2 separate regions of the Homo sapiens genome follow, and region 1 is linked to region 2. The links are contacts of gene promoters, found by promoter capture Hi-C in blood cells and fetal thymus (Javierre and others, 2016). All regions are on one chromosome and are shown on one strand. The core of a region is centred on a gene start or on the middle of the fragment in contact, and the rest is flanking DNA. Distances in the headings are between cores, read along the strand shown. Region 1 overlaps NDUFC1 (NADH:ubiquinone oxidoreductase subunit C1). Region 2 holds the start of MSMO1 (methylsterol monooxygenase 1).

Region 1 (4,353 bases), core at 1,308-3,807, about 26 Mb before region 2:
GTACAACTTGCACACTGCTGGTTTGTCCTTACAGCATCTGAAAAAGGTACCTTCATAAAACTCCAATTAGCCTCAATTCTCATTAAGAAATAAAGTATAATTACTATTGCCGGGCGTGGTGGCTCACGCCTGTAATCAGAACACTTTGGGAGGCCGAGGCGGGCGGATCAATAGGTCAGGAGATCGAGACCATCCTGGCTAATACGGTGAAACCCCGTCTCTACCAACAATACAAAAATTAGCCGGGCGTGGTGGCGGGCGCCTGTAGTCCTAGCTACTTGGGAGGCTGAGGCAGGAGAATGGCGTGAACCCGCGAGGCAGAGCTTTCAGTGAGCCGAGATCACGCCACTGCACTCCAGCCTGGGAGACAGAGTGAGACTCCATCTCAAAAAAAAAAAAAAAAAGTATAATTACTATTTAGTAAAACTGCCATTCCTTACAAAACCATGTTAAGGAACAATAACAGAAATTTTAGTCCCATCATACTTTTTCAATGTTGCTGAAATCTTAATTTCTTTTTAGTCCTTGGGATTTCTCTTATGGAAAAATACGTATCAGCGATTATATAAATATCCTACTGTTATGAGAGTTTCACTGCCATACAACATATAACAGCACCATTCAATCTCGCAATGTTATGTCATTCCCTTACCACGCTGGTGTAGTCTCACGACATCCGGGAGTAAAGTACTTACATAGATCCACAAGAAGACAGTGGTGCCCAAGGTGAACCCAACTTTCAGCCAGTCAGGTTTGGCATTCGGCGGCTCTCGCACGTAGAACTTTGATCGCACTGAAGCTGAAAGGGGAAGAGGGTCTGTAAATTTGTAACTTACTGCCTTGTAGGGAAAAAACCCTAACATTTACGTGCGTATTATCGCATTTAATTCTCCCTTCAACTCCCCCATCTCCCACTTAAACAGCCAAGGAAATAGAGGTTCAAAGAGATCAAGTACCTCGCCCAGGGCCACTGGCGAGTTAGACAGGACGCACCTGTCCTGTCCGAGGCTTTCAAAGCCTCGTTTAAGGGCTTGCGGACCCTCAGACGACTCGGGAGTGGTCATGTAAGGGGCGCCCCGGGGAGGGTGTCTCCTCTCCCGGTTTACGGGACCTAACGTACAGAGGTGGGGAAGGCAAGGACCCAAAGTCCATTTACAAAGGCCAAGAGTGGTCAGGTTGAACTTGGATAAGTGCTAGAGGCGGGTGATGGGGAGCAGAGAGCCCTGCGTAGGGGACAGGCGTGGGCTGGGCCTTGGGTCGTCTGCCGGCGAAGGTCACTGCAGGACGAACCCGGGCCGCTGCCGCCTCCTGCACCCGTGGGCTGGGTCCGCCTTAGGAGGGGTAATCTGAGGGTCGAGTCGGCCTGCACGAGGAGGATACTCACGGCCGCTCGGGAGCCTGGCGGGGGCCAGCAGCCGGGAAAGGGGACGCAGCAAGGCGGACGGCGCCATCTTGCGTGGCCCAGCTCAGTCTCTCCGAGTTGGCAACAGAACCAGCGCCACCTGGCGGCCGGAAGTGCGGGACTCGAGGGCTCTGCAGCAGAGCTCCGTGGGGGCGTCAACGTGAATTCCAGCACGGCAAGGTTCTCTAGCACCCCGGCCTCAGCCTTCTGTCTATACAGTGGAATTAGGAAGAAAATAATTAAAAGAAAAAAGAGTTTACCTATTCTCTGTCCTCTGGGGGTTTTTCACCCCATCTCTACGGCTATTCATCAAGAGGTTTATTAAAATTTTCCTACATGAGCCAGAAGAAAGAAAAGTGTCGTGCTGAATAATAACTAGCATTTGGATTGAATTCTGTGGTCCAGGCACGGTGCATTAATGTATCATATGGTTTACATTCATTGTCTTATTTCATCTTCAAAACGAGCACATATCATGCCGTGGTTATAAGCCTCAATTTACAGATGAAGCTTAAAGAAGACAGCTACTCATCCAAGGTGACATATTATATTTTACAGTTGAAAAGATCTCTTAACACTTACCACTTACACTCACGATCATACTGAAGCCTCACAAACCTGTGAAGTAGAATTAGTGCCTTAGGTAGGCTTAAGATCACACAGATGGCAGAGGTGGGATACAGTTTGAGGTCTTCTGACTCCAGATCTAGTGATCCTCATTAGCCCACCTAACAGACTTGGACCACCCTAGACCATAAGCTGTAGAATCAGCGTTCAAAGCCATTCTGCTCACCACTTTTTAGCTCTATGATTTCTAGGCAAATTACTTAACCTCTCTATACCTAAGTTTTACATCTGTAACATAAAACCTATAGGGTTGCTGAGAAGCTTAAACAAGTGTCTGGTAGTAGTAAACAATTTATTTGGTTTTGCCTATTAAAGACATCGTTCTGAGGAATAGGTTTTATCTTGCACAGTTGAGCCAGATCTTTGTACATTCAATTCAGTTCAATCTGATGTCTAAAGACCAGTAAAAATATTTATAGGTAACAGACAATACATTTTGACCCTTTAAAACTAATCCTTTAAACTTTATGTCATTAATTTTAAAACCAAAATAAATGTTAGCAAATCTCCTATATTCTCTTTAGCAATGTTATTTTAAGATCTTTTTTAACCAAAAATTATTGACCAAAAAGTCAATTAATTGCACTGTGTTTTCTGGCTCATTTTAACATGCAAATGGTGGCTAAATGGATTGCTAAATTGTGAGTCACTTTAGTTTGTAACCTAGTTTGAGCCTCCTGGACTCATGCTCAAGTAAGTAAACTACCCAATGAATGTGCTGAGCCAGTTGTTGGTTCGCCACTTATTGTCCACTCAGCAACCTGTCAGTTGTATATCCTTTCTACACCATCCGTTGGAAGCTTGTCCTGATGAAGCTTTTGCTAGTATCCAACAAGTTGAAACAGATGCTATCTTTAGTCAGAGTATTCAGAACCAGTAAGCAAATTACTAATTTCAGTACTGCTATTGAGAAAGACTGCTTTGTTCTTTTTCAGAGCTTTGGCCCTTGTATCCTTTTACTAGTGTGTATTTTGGGAAAGTGATGAAGTATAAGCACATTTTTCTCACCATATTAGAGCTGATGGGAACTGTACACTTGGAGTACCCAGCTGTATGTGAAACTGCATCTAGAAAAGAATCCTGATTAAGTAATTCCAGCTAGGAACTAATATCTATAATATTTTGTTAGAAGTTGCTTCATAACATTCATGTAAGCATCTTCAGAATTTGAACACTAAAATCTTATTTATGATCCAGGTGAAAAGAGAGAGGATTTGAGTTAGCAGCTAGAAAAGCAAAGTTTCAGTCCAAGATTTTTCCACTGGGAAAAAATCACATCTCCCAAGGAAGGTAAAAAAAGAGCAAGAATTGAAAAACAGTATAAAATGCAAAAAACAAAACAAAAAATCCCTATTTTTATTGATACAGCATGCATGAGAATACTATGAATCAAACTTAGGACTTGGGCCAGTCACAGTGGCTCAGGCCTCTAATCCTAGCACTTTGTGAGAACAAGGTAAATGGATTGCCTGAGTCCAGGAGGTCAAGACTGGCCTGTGCAACATAGGTAGATAACTATCTCTACAAAATGATTTTTTAAAAAATTAGCTGGGTGTGGTGGTGCATGTCTGTGGTTCCAGCTACTCGGGAGGCTGAGGTTGGAAGATCGCTTGGACCTGGGAGGTGAGGCTACAGTAAGCCAAGACTCTGCCACTGTACTCCAGCCTCGGTGACACAGTGAGACCCTGTCACAAAAACAAAACAAAAGAAAAAAACCAACAACCTCCCACCTCCCCACACACCAAGATGTATCTATAAGTTTTTATTTTTTAAGACTCAGCAGCTGGGCGCCCTGGCTCACGCCTGTAATCCCAGCACTTTGGGAGGCCGAGGCGGGCGGATCACCTGAGGTCGGGAGTTCAAGACCAGCCTGACCAACATGGAGAAACCCTGTCTCTACTAAAAATACAAAATTAGCCGGGCATGGTGGTGCATGCCTGTAATTCCAGCTACTCGGGAGGCTGAGGCAGGAAAATCGCTTGAACCCAGGAGGCAGAGTTGCGGTGAGCTGAGATCGCACCATTGCACTCTAGCCTGGGCGACAAGAGCGAAACTCTGTCTCAAAAAAAAAAAAAAAAAAAAAGATTCAGCAGCAGGCCGGGCGTTGGGGCTCACATCTATAATCCCAGCACTTTGGGAGGCTGCGGTGGGTGGATTGCTTAAGCCCAGGAGTTCAAGAGTAGCCTGGGCAACATTGAGAAATCCTGTCTATACACACACACAAAAAAAACCCAGAAGCAATAGCAAATTGTTAACATTTGTTAAATCTAGGTGACAAATACATGAATTTCTTTTATATTCTTTTTTTTTTTTTGGAACAAGGT
Region 2 (4,400 bases), core at 1,656-4,155:
AACTATATTTTGAGTCAAGATTCTGGGGTTCTAATCCTGGCTTTAAGGAAAAAAGCCATGTGGTATATTGGAAAGCCCATGGGCATAGAAACAAAAGGGTTCTGGGTTTGCAGCTCCCTCTATCAATTGCTAGCTGTGACTTTCAACACATTACTTAACCTCTAATCCTTATTTTGTTTTTAAAATGGCAATAGGAGTGTCTGTGTCACAAGGTTGTTGCGTTTGAAAGAAATGATGCATGTTAATATGCTTGAAATCCAGCGGGCCCTCAATAAATTACAGCTATTGTTCCCTGAGCCCCCTGTTAATCTTCATTGTAGGGAAATAAGTGAGTTGAGCTGCTGCATCAGCATTTTTTTCCAGCTCTAAGCCTTTAAGGTTTAAAATAATCTGACCCCTCCATACACCTACACCTGCTCTGATTTAGAAAATGTAATACTGTGGTAGAATTCCAAATCAGAAATAATTGCTGACATTTACTGATCATATCTTGTATGCCAGAGACTGTGCAAAGGGCTTTACATACGTTATCTCATGTAATCATCATAAATAACTCTTCGAGGTGTAGGTATTATTATTTCACAGAAGTACCAGATAAGACAGAGAAGTAACTTATCCACTGCTAATAAAATGCCAAGCCTAGTAAGTGTGGCCCGATAGTGTGTGCTATTGATGCTCACCTGATAGAGGATGGCAGGTTTGGGCAGAGAGAAAAGTTGGGTGGCAGTGCAGTCATCACACAACCAATAGGATGGGGAGCTCTGGAGCTGGGATGGCCAAGCAAAGTAGCCCTACATTGGTTTAGGGGATTTTATACCCGTTTCAACCAGTTACTTGACTAGCTGTTGCCTAGAAAGGGGGTATACCCGTGGGGAGAGGTGCTTCTCTTTGGCAGTACTCAGCAGCTGGAGGAATGCCTGCTTAGGTCTTGAAGAGGGGGATCTGGGTGGTGTGCCACAGCATCCACTACAGGACCAACAGATTCATATGCCCACTGCACAGTATACACTGAGACAGCAGGGTTTGCAGAAGAGAAAGAGTTTAGTGATGGCAGGGTGCCGAGAGGAGATGGGAGGAAACCCTCAAATTCATCTCTCTGAGGAGTTCTGTGCTGGGGCTTTTAAGGGGATCCTGGAGGGCAATGGGCTGGAAAATTAGGGTCCTCGATTGGCTGGGGTAAGGAGGAATGAAACCATCAGGATGTGGGAACTGCATTCTTTGGTGAGTCAGCTCCTTGTCAGACCAGCTGAGTCAGTAGTTTCATCAGTACGAAGGACCTGAAAGGTTATCTCAAAGCACAAACTTAACGTTTCATAATGTTCAAGTTGTTGTCTATAGAGCAGTTAGGGGAAACTATAACCTTGTAACAGAGTCTACATGATTCTGAAGCAATAGGCAAACAATTATGAGGAAGGGGTCAGACAGCAAGCTGACCTAATTATTAATCCTCAGTGTGCTGCAAGCTTGGTTTAATTTCGTTCCCCCCACCCCTTTTTCCCAGATTAACTTCATAAAGTATATAGGCATGGTTTCAGACACCACTGTAAAGGCATCCTAAAGACAGGGCTGACTCTGACAACCAAGGGACAGATCCCATTTCTTTTCATTTGACGTGACCGCTGTCATGATACTTTACAAAGAATGTGTGTGCCAAACATGAGGGATAGACGAATAAGTACAGGTCACACTGAATCTAAAAAAGACACTTTTCAAGAGGGAACTTCCTCAAGGAGATAGTACCTGAATTGATGGGGCGGCATGGAGATGGCTGATTATTCCAGGCAGAAGGGCCAGTTTGAGCAAAAGCATGGAGGAATGAAACAATAGTATTCTGTTTTCAGAAGCTGTATATATTTGACACAATATACACATAATCAAAACATGTGTACGCCGTAAACACAATTTTTGTCAATTATACCTTAATAAAGAAGGAGGAAAAAGGGCCTTCACTAGCCCAAATGATGCCCCTGTGCGGTTTTTTCTTTAAAGGCACCTCTTCCGTTAAGTGAAAGTTTTAGTATATTATCACATCTGTACAGTTTTATTATTAAACCCCAGTACACAATATTTTAATGTTGAGAGATGGTGTAAACTGAGCTTTAGAGCTGCAAAGACCTGCGTCAAGCCCCCGCCCCCGCCCCCGCCCCCGGGCACTCATCGTCCAGCACAACAATTGCAACAACACCTGGGCGTTCTCTGCCCATGTAGCGAGGTCAAGGTCCTGGGAGCCGAACTCTCCCTTGATGTTCAATCTTTTTAAATCTTTCCCAGCCTTTATTTCTCATCTGCAAAATGACGATAATCGCATTTGAAATTCTCCGTTTTCAAAATGCAGGAATTTATTAAAGGATACGTAGGCTGGGGAAACAAGGGAGACGAAAGATCTAAATCTAAATGGTAGACCAGAAAAAGGAAGGCAAGGGTGTCTGGAAACACAAAACAGTCAACATAGATTTTAAGACTCATCTATACTCTCTTCTTCCCGGGTTTGGGAACTGCGGTTGCTACACAGGTCACATTTGAAATAAAAGTCCTGGGACGGCGGCCGGCGCGACACTCTCCCCCGCACAGCGCAGGCTCTCACTGGGAATCTGCCGGGACCGCAGTTGCCAAGGCGACTCCGCGCTGCAGGGCGAGGCGGCCATCCGTCTGTGCCCGCCCCCTCACGCCGTGGCGCGCTCTCACGCTTCCCCGCCTCCGGGCGCTCCGCGGTGCCGACCATTGGCTGGCTCTGCAGGTCTCACTATCCTCACTCCATCCGCGGAGCCAATGGCTGGGACCGCCAGGAGCTCGTTCGCGCGAGTCACACGATGTCGGCAACTGCACAGACCAATCACCGCGCCGAGAAGGCGGGGCGGGAGCTCTCGCAGGCCAATAACGACAGGACGGGCCGCCTGGCCCACCCGGCTCCACCCCCAAGCCAGGCGAGGCAGGTTCCGAGGTTGGAACACCTGGCGAGTCCTCGGTGTCGGTGGCCGGCAGTCATCTCGCGGCCGTTCAGGTGAGGGGGTTGGAGGAGTGGCTCATGAGCGAGGAAGGGGGAGCAGGCGGGCTCCCACCCGGTGCTCCGTGAGATCGAGGGGAGCGGGTTCTGGGTGCGGATGCACGCGCTGGGCGGGACGCTGGCAGTGGTACCCGAGACGGGGCGGAAGGAGACTGGAGTGAAGGTGGGCCTAGGCTAAGGTACGTGCTAGAAAGGATGAAAACGGAGTGAAATTCTTAAGTGATGGAACTAGGCTAGGGCATGTTTCTTGCCCTTTAAAATGTGTTGTCTTCGGGAGACAGGACGTAGAAGATAGTTGCAGCACAGGGTGATAGGCTGGCGAAAGTTATACAAAAGCAGGAACCACTAGAAGGAGGTAAGATGTAGTGTGCTTTGGGAGTAGTGGGGTTGGGAAGGGCGTCCGAGAGGAGGTTACTGAAGGATGACTAGGAGTTGAATGGGAGGACATCACCTGTAAGGGAACGATATTTCCGTGGGCAGAGAGGAATGAAGCAGTAGCAACCATGAGTGATCAGATACTGCAAAAATGTGAAGTGTAGGATGGCGAGAATGTAAGAAATGAAGAGTGAAGAAGTCTGGAAGGGCCTCGTGTGCATCAATCACAGCGGGGCTTGATCTTTATGCTTAGGGCAAGCACTCCCTTGAACTTTGAGTGTTTTAAGGAGGTTATCTCTGATGTTTAAATTTATATAGATCGTGGCATTGCATCTTAGAAATAAGGTTTAGGAAGGGCAAGCTTGGAGGCAGGGCAAGTCCAGAAAATGAAGGAGCTGGTGAAATCCGTGTTAAAGTGCCAAAGGACAGAGACTGGCTGACAGCTAAACTTCAAGGTTTCTGAGAATCCACAAATAACTAAATTTATCTAGTCAACCTGTTCCAGAACAGGCTTCCAGTCATTTAGGTTGCCCAAGAATGAGTAAAGGAAAAGGAAATTCAATTTTCCAAGACCTTGTTTCCCCTCTCCTCTTTAATTCCTTGTTCGGTTAGCAACAGTATATCCATTCCCTCGCTCCTTTGTGAAAAGTAAATTCCTGAATGTTAACTAAACCAAGTGTTTCTAAATTGGGTAAGAGTTTGAAGACTTAAGGCAGCAGAATGGGAGAGACTTAAAACGTTATGTCTGAGAATTAGGCATTAAAGGAGGCCTAGTATTTGGGCGGGGGTTGTGAGGAGCACATACTGAACCTTTGGACCTGTTGAGTGAGTTCATGTGCCTCTGAACTCTCTGACTGGATATGACCAGTAAACTTGGATAATTAGATCCTGGAGTTTAGGGGAGAGGGCTAGAGATAGAGATGATGGATGTCAGCATATTTTTAAAACAGAAAATAGTTAAGATCACCCAAGACAATCTGGAATCGTTAGAAGGGAGTAAGGAAGGCATTATTGGGAAACT

Evidence for each region. The method cuts DNA at HindIII sites, captures the fragments that hold promoters and counts their contacts. A CHiCAGO score of 5 or more calls a contact.
Region 1: a contact is called between a fragment that was not itself captured here and the fragment with the promoter of MSMO1 in region 2, in 1 of 17 cell types (naive CD8 T cells). The highest score is 5.5, in naive CD8 T cells.

The regions. Positions count from the first base shown.
Region 1 is chr4:139,294,348-139,298,700 of GRCh38, forward strand. NDUFC1 (NADH:ubiquinone oxidoreductase subunit C1) reads right to left here. Exons shown (of 6, transcript NM_001184989.2): 2 at 3,038-3,096; 3 at 1,385-1,613; 4 at 696-799. The coding sequence starts at 1,451. Among named protein-coding and RNA genes, the nearest start is that of NAA15, 5.0 kb to the right of the region's middle. RefSeq lists an enhancer at 1,244-1,807. The HindIII fragment of the contact is 539 bases long and covers 2,289-2,827 here.
Region 2 is chr4:165,324,764-165,329,163 of GRCh38, forward strand. MSMO1 (methylsterol monooxygenase 1) reads left to right here and starts at 2,906. Exons shown (of 6, transcript NM_006745.5): 1 at 2,906-3,001. RefSeq lists a silencer at 2,505-2,844 and an enhancer at 2,935-3,204. The HindIII fragment of the contact is 2,277 bases long and covers 1,462-3,738 here.